Regions from separate parts of the Homo sapiens genome. Here region 1 is linked to region 2. The links are contacts of gene promoters, found by promoter capture Hi-C in human tissues and cell types (Jung and others, 2019). All regions are on one chromosome and are shown on one strand. Each heading gives the region's core, a stretch centred on a gene start or on the middle of the fragment in contact. The rest is flanking DNA. Distances are from core to core; before and after follow the strand shown.

What was found. The method cuts DNA at HindIII sites, captures the fragments that hold promoters and counts their contacts. A contact is called where the count stands out against the background at its distance.
Region 1: a fragment that was not itself captured here is called in contact with the fragment with the promoter of PRF1 in region 2 in 1 of the 25 tissues and cell types used here (H1 embryonic stem cells).

The regions. Positions count from the first base shown.
Region 1 is chr10:71,691,042-71,698,101 of GRCh38, forward strand. CDH23 (cadherin related 23) reads left to right here. Exons shown (of 70, transcript NM_022124.6): 21 at 3,106-3,218; 22 at 4,377-4,484. Among named protein-coding and RNA genes, the nearest start is that of C10orf105, 25 kb to the right of the region's middle. RefSeq lists an enhancer at 3,012-3,081. The HindIII fragment of the contact is 4,982 bases long and covers 1-4,050 here.
Region 2 is chr10:70,601,359-70,608,152 of GRCh38, forward strand. PRF1 (perforin 1) reads right to left here and starts at 1,383. Exons shown (of 3, transcript NM_001083116.3): 1 at 1,287-1,383. The HindIII fragment of the contact is 18,183 bases long and covers 1-6,794 here.

The sequences.
Region 1 (7,060 bases), core at 310-2,809, 1.1 Mb after region 2:
AGCAACTTTGATTAGTCCCTGGCACACGAAAAGTGCTAAAAAAAATTACCATCATTATTCTCTTTTGTTTATTCACCTGTGAGCCCCCTGCCCCCAGCTCCCAGCTCAGCCCATGTAACTCTCTTCTTTCTTCTTCGTCTCTCCATGTACATTCCTCAGTTTTCTCTCTTCCTTGAAGCTGGGAGAAAAAGTGGGCAGAAAGAAGCAGCAAGAGATCCAGGCTTTCAGCCAGACCTGGGGAAGAATTGGGACTTCTGTACATTCATTCATATGTTCATTTATTCATATGTTCATTCAGAAATTGGGGTGGGGGCTGCTCTGAGCCAGGTGCTGGGGTACAGGAAGGAATAAGACATGGCTCTGACCTCATGAGGTTGCTAGTCAGCTCAGTGGGCATGCAAGGCACCCCACTTCCAATACGCATTTCTGTATGAGTTAAAGGAACTGTCGATGCTAAACAGCTACACCCTATCTCAGTGGCTTGAGACAATACAAATTCAAATTCATATAGTCAACCCATGTAGATGTTGAGTGACAGCCTTCCACATGATGATTCTGGGACCCAGGCCCCTTCCATGTTGTGGCTCCAAGGTCACTGCAGAAGGGAAAAGAGAGCATGGGTTGTCAGAGCACTAGGAGGAGGTTATGGGCCAGGCCCTGCCTGGCAGTCACATCCAAGTAATAATTCTCCCCTGGGAAGGGAGCAGGAATCTTTGGTGGACACTGGCCATCCCTGCTGCAGGTGGTCAGTGGCCAGCAGGGCATCAGCTCTTCCTGCTATCCATCCCTCCACGTTGGAAGTCAGCCTTCAATCCCTTTTCCTGGAGGCTTGGGGAGCAGATGGCCGGTGCTGATGGGTACGAAGACTGAGGAAGGGGACCCAGGGCCACTGTGAGCCTCCTTTTCTATCTCTGAGAAAGTGAGGGCCCTCCTCCCAGCTCTCAGGAGCTTCCCCCACAGTGAGCCCTCATTCCCAGGGGTCTCAGAGTCATGTCATGAATGGATATGAACCACATGCCCAGCACTGTTCCCAGGGCTCTGAGCAGCAGCAGCATCTCATTCTGCCCTCCTCACCTGTGAGGCAGGTACTAGCCTTATCCCCATTTTCCAGATGAGGAAGCTGAGCCACTGGGGAGGTTAAGTAACCTGACTGAGGACTCGCAGAGCACGAACTTCTGACTCCAGAATCCAAACATTAAAGGCGCCATTATATGAGTAGCTCCCTGGCCTTTTAGCCACCCCCGCCCTTGCCTCCCCAGTCGGGGCTCCAGCTCCACCTGGGGCCTTTAATGACACAGACATTTTCTTGCTGCCTTAACACGACTTTGTCTCCAAAGGTGTAAGTGTTTTCCTCTGAGTTCCTCGGTCAAATTAGCCAGGGCTGCTCCACAGAGGTGGCCTTAATTGGATCTAATTTCCTAGACAGGAGAGGCCATCTATCATGCCGACAAGTTCACGTTTAAAACTTTTTAGAGATTAATTTCTTCCTCGCCCTGCCAATTACTTGACACCACCCTGGCAGGGAGTGTGGCTCGTTGGGCAGACCTTTGTGAGTCTTCCATTCCTGGCCTCAGCACCTAAGCTGCCCTGTCACCCACCCCCAGCTCCCTGCTCAGCCCCTGCACAGACCAGAGGGCAAGCCAGTGTGCCACAGAGGGAACTGTCAGGGTAGAAGCAGTCCTAAAAGCAATCTGGTCCAGCTGCCTTGTTTTATGGTGGAAAGAACCAAGCACAGAGAAGTTAAGCGACTTGGCCCAGGTCACACAGCTCAGGCAATGGGGATAAAAAGATGGATAGCACACAGGCCCTGCCCGTGGAGAATGCTCACGGTCCATTGGAAGAAAACAGTCATTTTCTGAGTGTTGGGAGCCTCACCTAGAATTACTGTAGCCTCACAACGGCTCTGCATGGAAGTCACACTAATCTCCATTTTATAGATGAGAAAACTGAAGCTTCAAAGAATTAAAATTCTCCAAGGCCAAGCGTCTGGGAAGGGCCATAATCAGAATTCAAATCCACATCTCACATCTTCACCACGTGGGTGCTCTCCCATGGCTGATGCAAGATAGTAAATGGCCTGGCTGCTGTGATTGCTGAAGTCTGCTGGGACTGGCTCACCCTGCTCCCAAGAGCTAGCGAGGCACTCAATTGTGAACTCCATATTCAATACCACCAAGTTGGTAGCTTAAAATGGGCCCTGGTGGGGCTATTTACACCAAGGAAATTGGCAAATGCCTTTTTTTTTTTTTATTTTGGGGAGCCAGTTGTCAAACATTTACCAGCACGCCACTATCAGGGTGATGTTTGCATTTCAGTTACACCAAAATACAAAGAAAGACCAAATACAGGCGAACAAGAAATGTTGTTTAATTGTTCAGATTTAGCACACTAAAACAACTCGAGGCAATGTAATTATGCTCTTCACAATGTAATTAGGAAATTATTTTATAACTATTAATTATCAATGCACGATAAGGTTGGATAGGTTGAACTGTCCAGTAATGAGTCACAAGTTAGACGCATGTGAACACCCGGTGTTTTTATTTCCTGTCATTGTATTTCTGTGACTGTATAAATAAACAGTGCCTGGCACTGTTCTAAGATTTCCATGATCTTAATTAAATTAACCCCACAATAGCCCTATGAGGTAGTTCCTATTATGGTTCCCTTTGGACCCTATGAGGAAACTGAGGCACAGAGGATTGAAGTAACTAGCTCCAGGTGAGAAAGCCAGTAAGATAATGTCAAAAGTCTAAACAAGAGGTGATCTGTGACTGAGCTTAAGGCCTAATGGCCCTCCTGCCCTGTTCTCCAGCCCCTAACCCCGAGAATCAGCCTAGATTTTCCCACATCTGCAAATATTTCCTCCTCATGGGGTTATGTTGCCCAGCCCTGGGGAACCAGCTCCCAAGGCACAGGAGCTCTCCCGTCTCCCACTGTGAGCACCAGCTCAGGAACACATCCAGGCCGCCAGATCATGGTAGCTTGCTAACATTTCTCGTGCAAGTTCTCACCCTCTCTCCTTCCCTCGCTCTCTCTCTTCTTCCCTCCCTCTCTCCCTGGCCCACCCAAACCCTCTCACGCACCCACTTCTCTCTCTGGCAGGGGAAATCACCACCACGTCTCTGCTTGACCGAGAGACCAAGTCTGAATACATCCTCATCGTTCGCGCAGTGGACGGGGGTGTGGGCCACAACCAGAAAACTGGCATCGCCACCGTGAGTGCGCTCCCCTCCCGTGCCCCAGCTCCCCCTCGCCGGCCAGGCTGCTGCTCCCTGCTTGTACCTCTGGACCCCCGTGTCCTGAGCCAGTGTGAGGCTTTGTGAGAATGAGCAAGGGGGCGAAAATGAACCCATCAGCAGCAGAGGTCAGCCCCCGGGGCCACCACAGCTGTGGGGAAGAAAGGCATCACCACCAGGAATGTAGGGGCACTTGGGAGGAGCAAAATGAAATACTTTCTCTCCTGCCCCTAAAAATCCAGGAGGGCAGGTGGCAGAAGGCATGAGCCCCATAGGCCCCTCCTTGCCTTGGTGCCTGTCAACAAAGCAGAAGCAGGCATTCCTGCGAGGAAGAGCAGCTCAGAGCAGGAAGCAGGGCCCTGGAGGGTCCCTGGGGGCTTGTTCTCCCCCATCTAATGTGCCCCAGAGAGTAGAAAGCTAGAGGAACGAAACGTGGGGGCCTCGAATGAGCTCTCGGCTGCAGAAGTGAAAGGGGAAGTGAGAAGCCCTCTGTGGGAGAGGAAGCGGGAGGACCAGCTGACAGTCACTCCAGCCACCTCCCCTCTTTGTTCCCCATTCGGTTTCTTTGGCTCACCCTCAAAACTGTGGCCCTCACCCAGTCTGCAGCAGCCACCCCATCCTTACCCAGCCAGAGAGGCTGGAGACGGTATCGCGTGGCCAGGGATTTGATGGAAAAATCCCCAGTGCCCTACTCTGTCAAGGGAGGCTCCTACTAATAGGAATCAGAGCCCTATAAATAATGTACCTGGTGGCAGGTGAGCAGGGAAATTGCTTGGCTTGTAGCTGAGACGGGGAGGCTCAAGGGATTCTATTAGATCCCCCACCCTGTCAGTCACCTTCAGCCAAGACTGGAGGCAGGGATGGGGGAAGCCCCAGGTCACAGCAAGGATTTCAGGGCTTATCACATCCATTCCACTGCCTCCTGATGGGACAACACTGGAACTCTCTCTCCTGAAGCGGCCTGGCTCCTTCCTGCCCTCGAAAGCCCAGGCTCTGCCCAAGGCTCCCAAGGTTGGTGGAGCTGGCAGAATTAATGCGAAGATTGCCCGTGGGCATCTGAGCACTTTTCCCCTGGCAGGCCCTGCCCTGGCCCATCTCAGCTGGGTGTGTCTCCCAGCGCCCCTTATGGCTTCACAGGTAAACATCACCCTCCTGGACATCAATGACAACCACCCCACGTGGAAGGACGCACCCTACTACATCAACCTGGTGGAGATGACCCCTCCAGACTCTGATGTGACCACGGTAGGTGGTGGCAGAGCAGCAGAACTGCCAGGCGGCCCTTCCCAGGGGTCTGTGCCCCTCCCACTGCGATTCCAGGGGGCCTTCCCCTATGGGGCTGGTGGACTCTGTGTCCCTCTGAGCTGGCTCTTGCAATAGAGTTCTAGCGGTTCTCCTGCATGGTGAAAGGCAGTCAGAGGTCAAGGGAAAGCCCTCATCCGGCCTCCAGTGTCAGTAGGCCTCAGGCTTTGTCAAAGGGAGCTTCAGGCAGCCCAGGGACAGTGGCAGGGGAGCTCTGGCCGGTTCCGCTTGTGAGCCACACGTGCCCTTAGAGCCCAGGACTCTGGCCACCCCCTCTGGAGAGCTCCCACCCCTACACTGCACAAGCCCCAGCTCCACCCCAGCACCTGTCTTTCACTGCTGTGCCCCTGCAGTCATCCATCTGGGTCACCTCCCCCACGGGCTGGCCCCCACGGCTGCCCAGCAGGGGTTTTGTTCACCTCAGGAATTTTCTGGCACAGGTTTGCCAGGTTTGCACAGGCCCCTGTGTGTGTTGTGTGCTCATGTGCAGGAATGTGCACAATTCAGGGTGCAGAGGGGAGACACGGTCAAAGCCAGGGCATCTCCAGCGGAGACCAGAATCCTGGGGAAACTGAGGAAGCCCAGGTCCCACCCCCACACCATCTGCTCTGCTGGGAGGTCCACATTTTTCAGCCTTCTCCTCCCCCACCCTGTACACCACGTGGCCTTACTTGAGGAGGCTTGTCCCCACATGAACATCCCCACTGCCACCCACCCAGCCCTGTGGGGGACATGAATCCTGGCAATTGACTGAACACCTGGGATGTGCTCTGAGCCTCCCCTGAGGGCTTCTCAGGAACTCTCTCCTCCTCACTGTAATCTCACAAGGCAGAGGGATTCCGTTGCCACTGCACTGTGGAGGAGACAGACTTAGAGCTTAAAGGCTTGCCCAAGGTCCCAAAGCTAGTAAAGGGTGCGGTCAGGACTCGAACCCTGGTCTGTCTGACTTGGAGACAAGGGATTAGAAACCACCTGGCCCAGTCCTTATTCCTCTGGGAGGGGGCACCCACACACCAGCTGACAGCCAGTCAGTGAACAATGTGGAAAGGAAGATAGGCATGACGGCCAATCCTTCCCTCCCTCTTTGTCCTTCCTTCCAGGTTGACCTCCTCTCCCATCCAGAGCCACTGCCAAGTATGGCTCTGGCACTGGAATAGGCACAGTGGAATAGGGCAGAGGTGAGGGATCTGGAATCTGCGATTTTTTTCAAAGCCCCGTAGAGGAATTCCTTCCAGCCCAGGGCCAGGTTTAGAAACCAGGACCCTCGCCCTTTGACACAGCTCTCTAGGCTCTTTGGTGGGTGCTCTCTGCTGCCGCCTTGTGGGCACTGCACTGGCCCAGGGTAACCTCCTCCCCACCCCAGCCAGGGATTCCAAGAGCTGGGGCTGGATCTCACCTCTGAACACCTTCTGGTCAACCCTCACCTTTCCCTTAGGTTTTTGGGAAATTCCTCCCAAAGGGGATTGAGGGGCAGGTGAGGAAGGTTGCTCTGGGAAAAGGGGGCTGCACAGGACACCAGCCTGGATTGCCGTTATCAAATAGTACACCCGGCAGACAAGGCGTGGGTGTGCCAGGTGAGGACTGCACACAGTCTTGGGCATCTGCAAGCTTTGGTCCCCCCGCCCTTCACCAGGTCTCCTGCCCTCCACATGTCCTTCTGAGCCATGAGCAGGCATGGACAATGGACCAAGGACCTGCTGCCCAGTGCCTCCTCACTTTCCAGGAAATCCACGAGCTATCAGGGAATGCCTACTGCATGCCAGGCCCCACGCTTGTCAGGCTGAGGGTACAGGAAGCAACACCAGGCCAGGTGCAGTGGCTCACGCCTGTAATCTCAGCACTTTGGGAGGCCAAGGCAGGCAGATCGCTTGAGCCCAGGAGTTTGAGACCAGTATGGGCAACATAGTAAGATCCCCACCCCCTTTATAAAATTTTTTTTAAGTAGCCAGGTGTGGTGGTGCACACCTGTGGTCCCAGATACTCAGGAGGCTAAGGCAAGATGATTTTTGAGCCTGGATGATAGAAGCTGCAGTGAGCCAAGATCACACCACTGCACTCCAGCCTGAGTGACAGAGTGAGACCCTGTCTCAAAAAAAAAAAGGAAGCTCCCGCCCTGCCTGCCTTTGGGGAGTGTCATGTCACTCTTCTATTCAAACCCCAGTGGTTCCCATCTCACCCTGTGCAAAAGCCAGAGCCCTTGCCAGACCTACAAAACCCGCAGGGTCTGCCCCATTGTCACCCCTGAGGAGTCAGCCGCATCATCCCTATCTGTAGTACAGAGCGGGTGTGGCTGTTCCACCGCTGGCGTCAGGTGGGCACAGGCTGGAGATTTTTGGTGCCCCAGGGTAGTATTTGAGACCTGAAAAATAAATGTGATGACCTGAAAGTTCAAAGATAAAAGGGCAAAATCAAAATTAAAACTTGTTATATGAAACATCTATCAGATGAAAGATGGCAGCTTTAGTAACTATGAAATTTAGTGTTTGTGAAAATTTCATTACATTCGAGGACAAATTGGA
Region 2 (6,794 bases), core at 133-2,632:
CTCTCACTCTGTTTCTTTGTCTCTGTCACTCTCTCTAACCTCTCTCCCTCCCACTGAGCCCTTAACAGAATTGGAAGAGAAATGAGGTCCTATATTGCACCTATTCTTCTCATTTTCCCTTTGGGGCTCTCCCTCTGAGCTTTATGGAATAACATCAGCCCGAATTCTAGAATAAAATCTGCCGACCTGGCCAGGTGTGGTGGCTCACACCTGTAAACCGAACACTGTGGGAGGCAGAGGCAGGTGGATCACTGGAGGTCAGAAGTTCGAGACCAGCCTGGCCAACGTGGTGAAACCCCCTCTTTACTAAAAATACAAAAATTAGCTGGGCATGGTGGCGGGTGCCTGTAATCCCAGCTACTTGGGAGGCTGAGACAGGAGAATCGCTTGAACCCAGGAGGCGGAGGTTGCAGTGAGCCAAGATCGTACCACTGCACTCCCGCCTGGGTGATAGAGTAAGACTCTGCCTCAAAAAAAAAAAAAAAAAGGGGCAGACCTGACCACACCCTTGGATTTTGTGTGGGGAGAGGCCTCGATGGTTGCTCTTCAGATCCTTTCTTGCTGCCCCTCCCCTCTTTGCCACTCCCTGCCAAGCTCTGTGGCCTTCGGCAGTGACAGGGGCCCCCCTATTGCCTACTATGGACAATGATTGTCTGGAAGGTTCTTCCTAATTTTAAGGTGTTTCTGGGGCCTTGCCTGGGCCTGTTTATGATCTGGAACCTCCTTTCTCTAACCTTACCCAAGCCTAACCTTATCCAAGCTGAGCTCTTCAAAGGCCTTTGCCCTTGGGTACCACAGGTTCTGAGACAAGAGGGCTATGGAGAGCCCCCATTATAGCTGGAGCCTCCTGCCCTGCCCAAAGGTGTGACTTGAAGGGTGGAATTTCAGGCAGCGTGGCTCGCCCCAGGGAGGCAAAGAGGCCAGGGGAATCTTCAAAGGCCCTGGGCTCATCCCAGCTAGGAGGCGGGCACAGTCATAACCCTAATCCAGTGAACTCAGCCCTCATCCTGACTCTCATGGTATTCTGTCCCAGGGAGCCTCTTTCCAGCTTTCTTAGAAGCTTTAATGTCAGCACTTGCAGGGCCTTAGAAACTGCACGCTACCTCTTCATTTCATACATGAGGAAACTGAGGCCCAGGGTGGACACAGGGCTGCCCAGCGAGTTAGTGATGGGCACCGTCTGTGACCCAGGTGTCTTGTCTTATAGGTCACAGCACTTCCTGCTCCATCAGCCTCTTCCCCTCCACCCAGGGCCCCAGGCCCCCCAATCCCTGCTCTCTCCTTACCTGGAATCCCGTATAGAGAAGCGGCTACACAGATGGATATCCTCTCTTCACCGAGGCTCCTGGAATGGTGGCATCAGCCCCCCAGGCAGCCCACTGTGGCTCCTTGCACCAGCCACCACTCACATCACTTCTACTTCCTGCCCCGCCCCCAGCTGTGGTCACAGGTCCTTTGTGCTCTCCCCTCCCACAAGCACCCACCCTGTCCTCAGCCCTCATCCGGCTCCCCACTGACAGCCCTCAGGAAGCGAGCAGCAGGGCCAGAGGCTCATCTGCCGAGTAGAGCTGCTGGGGCTCGGGGACTCAGGGCACACAGGCGGAGGAGGGCGGGGCGCTGAGGACTTTGAGACTCGGCCCTGGTGTTGATGAACAGGCCAGCAGGGCCATCTCCTTGCTTCTGATGCACAGCATCGCATGTGTGGGATGTAAGAGGCAAGCAGAGGCGGCGGCTCAGAGCATGGGCCTACACGCCAGACCGCCGGGGCTTGGGCAGCTCGGTTATGCACCAGCAGTGTGGACTGGTAGGGTTCTTCAGCCTCACTGTGCCTCAGTTTCTTCACTGAACAATTGGGATTGTAGGTCATGTAGACCCTAGGGGTTGTTGTGAAGTGCTTGGAACTGTGCCTGGCCCTTCTTGAGTGTCAGAGCCTGTGGCCATTCCCTCCTCCCTGAGTGGGAGAAGAGAGATGTTGCTCTAATCTTGCCATCCACTTCCTGCTCAACCTACATCCCACCCTAGCCCAGGCTCCGAACTCCAAGCATGTTCCTCGAACAGGGGCTCCTGCTCCTCGCTTTGTGAGGACAGCCAGTGGCCTCCACGCTGGCTCCAGCCCTGCTGAGGTCGTGGGTGCTGGTGAGAGTGGTCTGGTAGCACCGGAGGACATGTCTTCTGCACTCTGCCTTGCTTGAGGTCAGGGTGGGGTGAGGTTTCCATGGGTGGAGTGACTCACAGGGCACTGGGGGGCAAAATCACACGGCTTCTGGGGTGGGGGCAGCTGGGTAAGGGAGGAGGTGGTTCTCACAACTTGTTCTCATAACTGTGTATATGATGGGAAGAAGTGGCCGCAGGCTCCAGACCACATGTGACATCATGTCTCATGGGTCACACTTTGGGGCTCATCCCTTGCGTTTATGTCCCTGCTTCCGTCCCTGCTCTTACAGGAACAGGGGCTTATGCTGTCTTCTCGGAATCTGGCCCCATCTTCTCTCCGCAGTGTCCCCACCCTCTTCTAGAAACTGCAGCCTCCTGATCACTTTCCAGCTGTCACCCATGGCCTGACTTGGATGCTGAGGCTGTGAGGAGTTTCTTTCCTGACCATGACAGGAAGGCCGGTTTGAGGGACATAGAAGTCCTGCAAAGTATCTGCGGGAAAAGAGAGGCAAAGTCTAAACAGGTTCTGATCCCAGCTTCACCAGAAACTTACCGTATGCCTCACGGCGATAGATATCAACCCCCTTTCTGAGCGTTAGTTTCCTCACCTATAAAATCAAAGAGAGGACTTTGGAATTCTACACATCCTTCCAGCTAATGATAAAATGTACACTTGGCAGGTTTCAAGTGGCTTATGAAGTGGCTAATGCCCAAGAGATGCTAGTGGTTGTTAGGGGATCCATTAAAGAGCCGAAATGACATTGAGGGTGATGACTGTTTTTGACTCGTTTAACTGATGACAGCTGTCCTTCTGAAACTTGACACTTGAATGTGCATTAAGCAGAGTTTTTCCTCAGAGACACAAGTTTCAACAAGTGCGTAATTTGTTCAATCACCAGACACCATGTATATGGTTTTCTTTAGTAACAACAATCTTTAGATGTAATTCACATACCATATAATTCACCCATTTCAAGTATATGATTCAATGGCTTTAGTATGTTCACAGAGTTGTACAGCCACCGCTACAGTCAATTTTAGAACATCTTCATCACTTTCCAGAAATAAAACCTATACCCACTGGTGGTCATTTCTCATTTCTTTTTCTTTTTCTTTTTCTTTTTTTTTTTTTTTTTGAGATGAAGTCTTGATTTGTCACCCAGACTGGAGTGCAGTGGCATGATCTCGGCTTACTGCAACCTCTGCCTCCCAGGTTCAAGCGATTCTCCCACCTCAGCCTCCCCAGTAGCTGGGACTACAGGCATGCGCTACCACGCCTGGCTAATTTTTTTTTTTTTTTTTTGTATTTTTAGTAGAGACGGGGTTTCACCATGATGGCCAGGCTGGTCTTGAACTCCTGATCTGCAAGTGATCAGCCCACCTTGGCCTCCCAAAGTGCTGGGATTACAGGCGTGAGCCACCGTGCCTGGCCATTTCTCATTTCTTCATAACGCTAATCTACTTTATCTCTCTGTTAATTTTCCCATTTTCGACAATTCATATAAAAAGAATCATAGCATATGTGGCCTTTTGTGTCTGGCTTGTTTCATTTAACATAATACTTTCAAGGTTCATCCATGTTGTAGCATGTATCAGTACTTTAGTCCATTTCATGGCTGAATAATATTATATTATATGGACATATCACAATTTGTTTACCCATTCATAACTGATGGATTTATTGGTTGTTTCTACTTTTTAGCTGTTATGAATAATGCTGTTATGAACATTTGTGTACAGGTTACTGTGTGGACATATGTTTCCATTTCTCCTGAGTATATATCTAGGAGTGGACTTGCTGGGACATGTGGTAACTATAGGTTTAACTTTTTGAGGAAGTGTTTTCCAACGTGATTGCATTGTTTTGCATTTCTCCAGCAGCTTATGAGAGTTCTAATTCCTCCTTTCCAAATCAAACCAAGGTTCCACTAGTTCCTTGCCAAACCTTGATTATAGCCATCCTGGTGGGTGTGAAGTCGTACCTCATTGTGGTTTTGACTTGGATCTCCCCAGTGGCTAATGAAGTTGAACATCTTTCCATATGCTTATTGGCCATTTGTACACCTTCTTTGGAGAAATGTCTATTCAAGTCCTTTGCCCCTATTTTGAACTGAGTTGTCTTTTTATTGTTGAATTGTAATAGCTCTTTCTACGTTTTGACTTCTAGACCCTTGTCAGATATAGAATTTGCAAATATTTTTTCCTATTTTGGCAGTTGTCTTTCTTTTCACTTTCTTGAGGGTGCCCTTGAAGTATAAAAATATTTTACTTTTGGCCAGGCATGGTGGCTCACATCTGTAATGCCAGCACTTTGGGAGGCCAAGGTAGGAGGATCGCTTAAGTCCAGGAATTCAAGACCAACCTAGGCAATGTGGCAAAACCCTGTCTGTACAAAAAATACAAAAATTAGCCAGGCATGGTGATGTGTGCCTGCTTTTTGGGATAGTTCCAAATAGTTCCAGCTATTTGGGAGGCTGAGGTGCGAGGATTGCTTGAGCCCAGGAGTTCGAGACCAGCCTGGGCAACATGGCAAGACCCTGTCTCTGGAAAAAAAAAAAAAAATTAGCTGAGAGTGGTGGCACACACACACCCCTGTAGTCCAAGCTACTCAGAAGGCTTAGGTGGGAGGATTTCTTGAGCCTGAGGGGTCGAGGCTGCAATGAGCCAAGATCGCACCGCTTTACTCTGGCCTGGGTGACAGATCGAGACACTGTCTCAAAAAAAAAAAAAAGATTTTACAGGCCGGGAGGGGTGGCTCATGCCTGTAATCCCAGCGCTTTGGGAGGCCGAGGCAGGCGGATCACGAAGTCAGGAGATCGAGACCATCCTGGCTAACACAGTGAAACCCCGTCTCTACTAAAAAAATACAAAAAATTAGCCGGGCGTGGTGGCGGGCGCCTGTAGTCCCAGCTACTCAGGAGGCTGAGGCAGGAGAATGGCATGAACCCAGGAGGCGGAGCTTACAGTGAGCCGAGATCATGCCACTGCACTCCAGCCTGGGTGACAGAGCAAGACTCTGTCTCAAAAAAAAAAAAATTTTTTTACTTTTGTTGAAGTTCAATTTACCTATTTTTTTCTTTTGTTGCTTATATTTTTAATGCCATATCTAAGAAGGTTCTGCCTAATCCAAGATCATGAAGATTTATTCCTATGTTTTCTTCTAAGAGTTTTATAGTTTTAGCTCTTATATTTAGGTCTATTATCCATTTGGAGTTAATTTTTGTGTATGGAAAGGGGTCCAACTTCATTCTTTTGCATGTGGATATCGTATATGGTTTTGATTTTTTTAGGTTATAAAATACCTGCTTTAGATAGAACAGTGCCATAAATCTTGCTATCTTGGAATGTTCATGTCCCTCCAAGATTCATGTTGAAACTTAATCCTCAATGCAATAGTATTAAGGAGTGGGGCCTTTAGGAGGTAATTAGGTCATGAGGGTTCTGCCTTCATGAATGGGATTAGTGCCCTTATAAAAGGGCTTGAGGGAGTCTGTTTGTACCTTCTTGCTCTTCTGCCCTTCCACCATATGAGGTCACAGCAACAGGCACCGTCTGTGGAGCAGAGAGCAAACTTTCACCAGATACCACGTCTGCTGGTACTTTGATCTTGAACTTTCCAGCCTCCATAACTGTGAGAAATACATTTCTATTATTTATAAATTATCCAGTCTAACATATTTTGCTATGGCAGCAGGAGTAGACTAAGCAAGAAATTGTGCTGGGAGTGGGGTGCTGCTGTAACAAATACCTAAAAATGTGGAAGGAGCTTTGCAGCTGAGTAATGGGTAGAGGCTGGAAGAGTTTGAGGTTCATGCTGAAAAAAACTTGTATTTCTGTGAACGGACTATAAAGGGTTTTTCTAGTGAGGGTTCAGAAGACGAGGAGAACTGTAGAGAGAGCTTCAATCATTTTAGAGATTATTTAAGTGGTTGCAAGTGGAACATTGGTAGAAATATAAACGGTAAAGGCTACTTTGATGAGGTCTTAGATGGAAATAAGAAACATCTTCTTGTTAAGTGGAAGAAAGGTGATCCTTGTTATAAAGTGGCAAAGAATTTGGCTGCATTGTGTTTGTGTTCTAGTGTTTTGTGGAAGGCAAAACTTATGAGCAACGAAAGAGTATATTTGGTAGAAGAAATCTCTAAGCAAAGTGTTGAGGATGCAGCATGGCTTTTCTTGATTGCTTACAGTAAAATACAAGATGAGAGAAATGAATTAAGGGTGAAACATATAGTTAAAAGGGAAGTAGAACTTAAAAGAGTTGGAAAGTTCTCAGCGTGGCCAGGTTGTAAAGAATGAGAAAGTGTTTGAGAGAGAATACCAATGGTGTGGCCAAGTGAATGTTTGATAGGGAGATTTATATGGCTAGAAGAATGCCAGGTGATATTCATCAAGACGATGGGAAAATGGCCCCCAAGGCATTTTGGAGATCCTCAAGGCTGCCACTACTATTACAGGCCCAGAGTGCCAGGGTTTTGTGGTCCGAATGGTTTCAAGGGAGGGACCCAGGATGCCTTTGGGGCTTTGTGGTTTGCTGCCCAGGGCTGCATCAAATTTCTACTCCATGCATTCTGGCACAGAGCTCGTTGGTCACCTCAAGTGTGGCTAGTGGGCCTAGGTGCAGTGTGGTCTACAGTGGT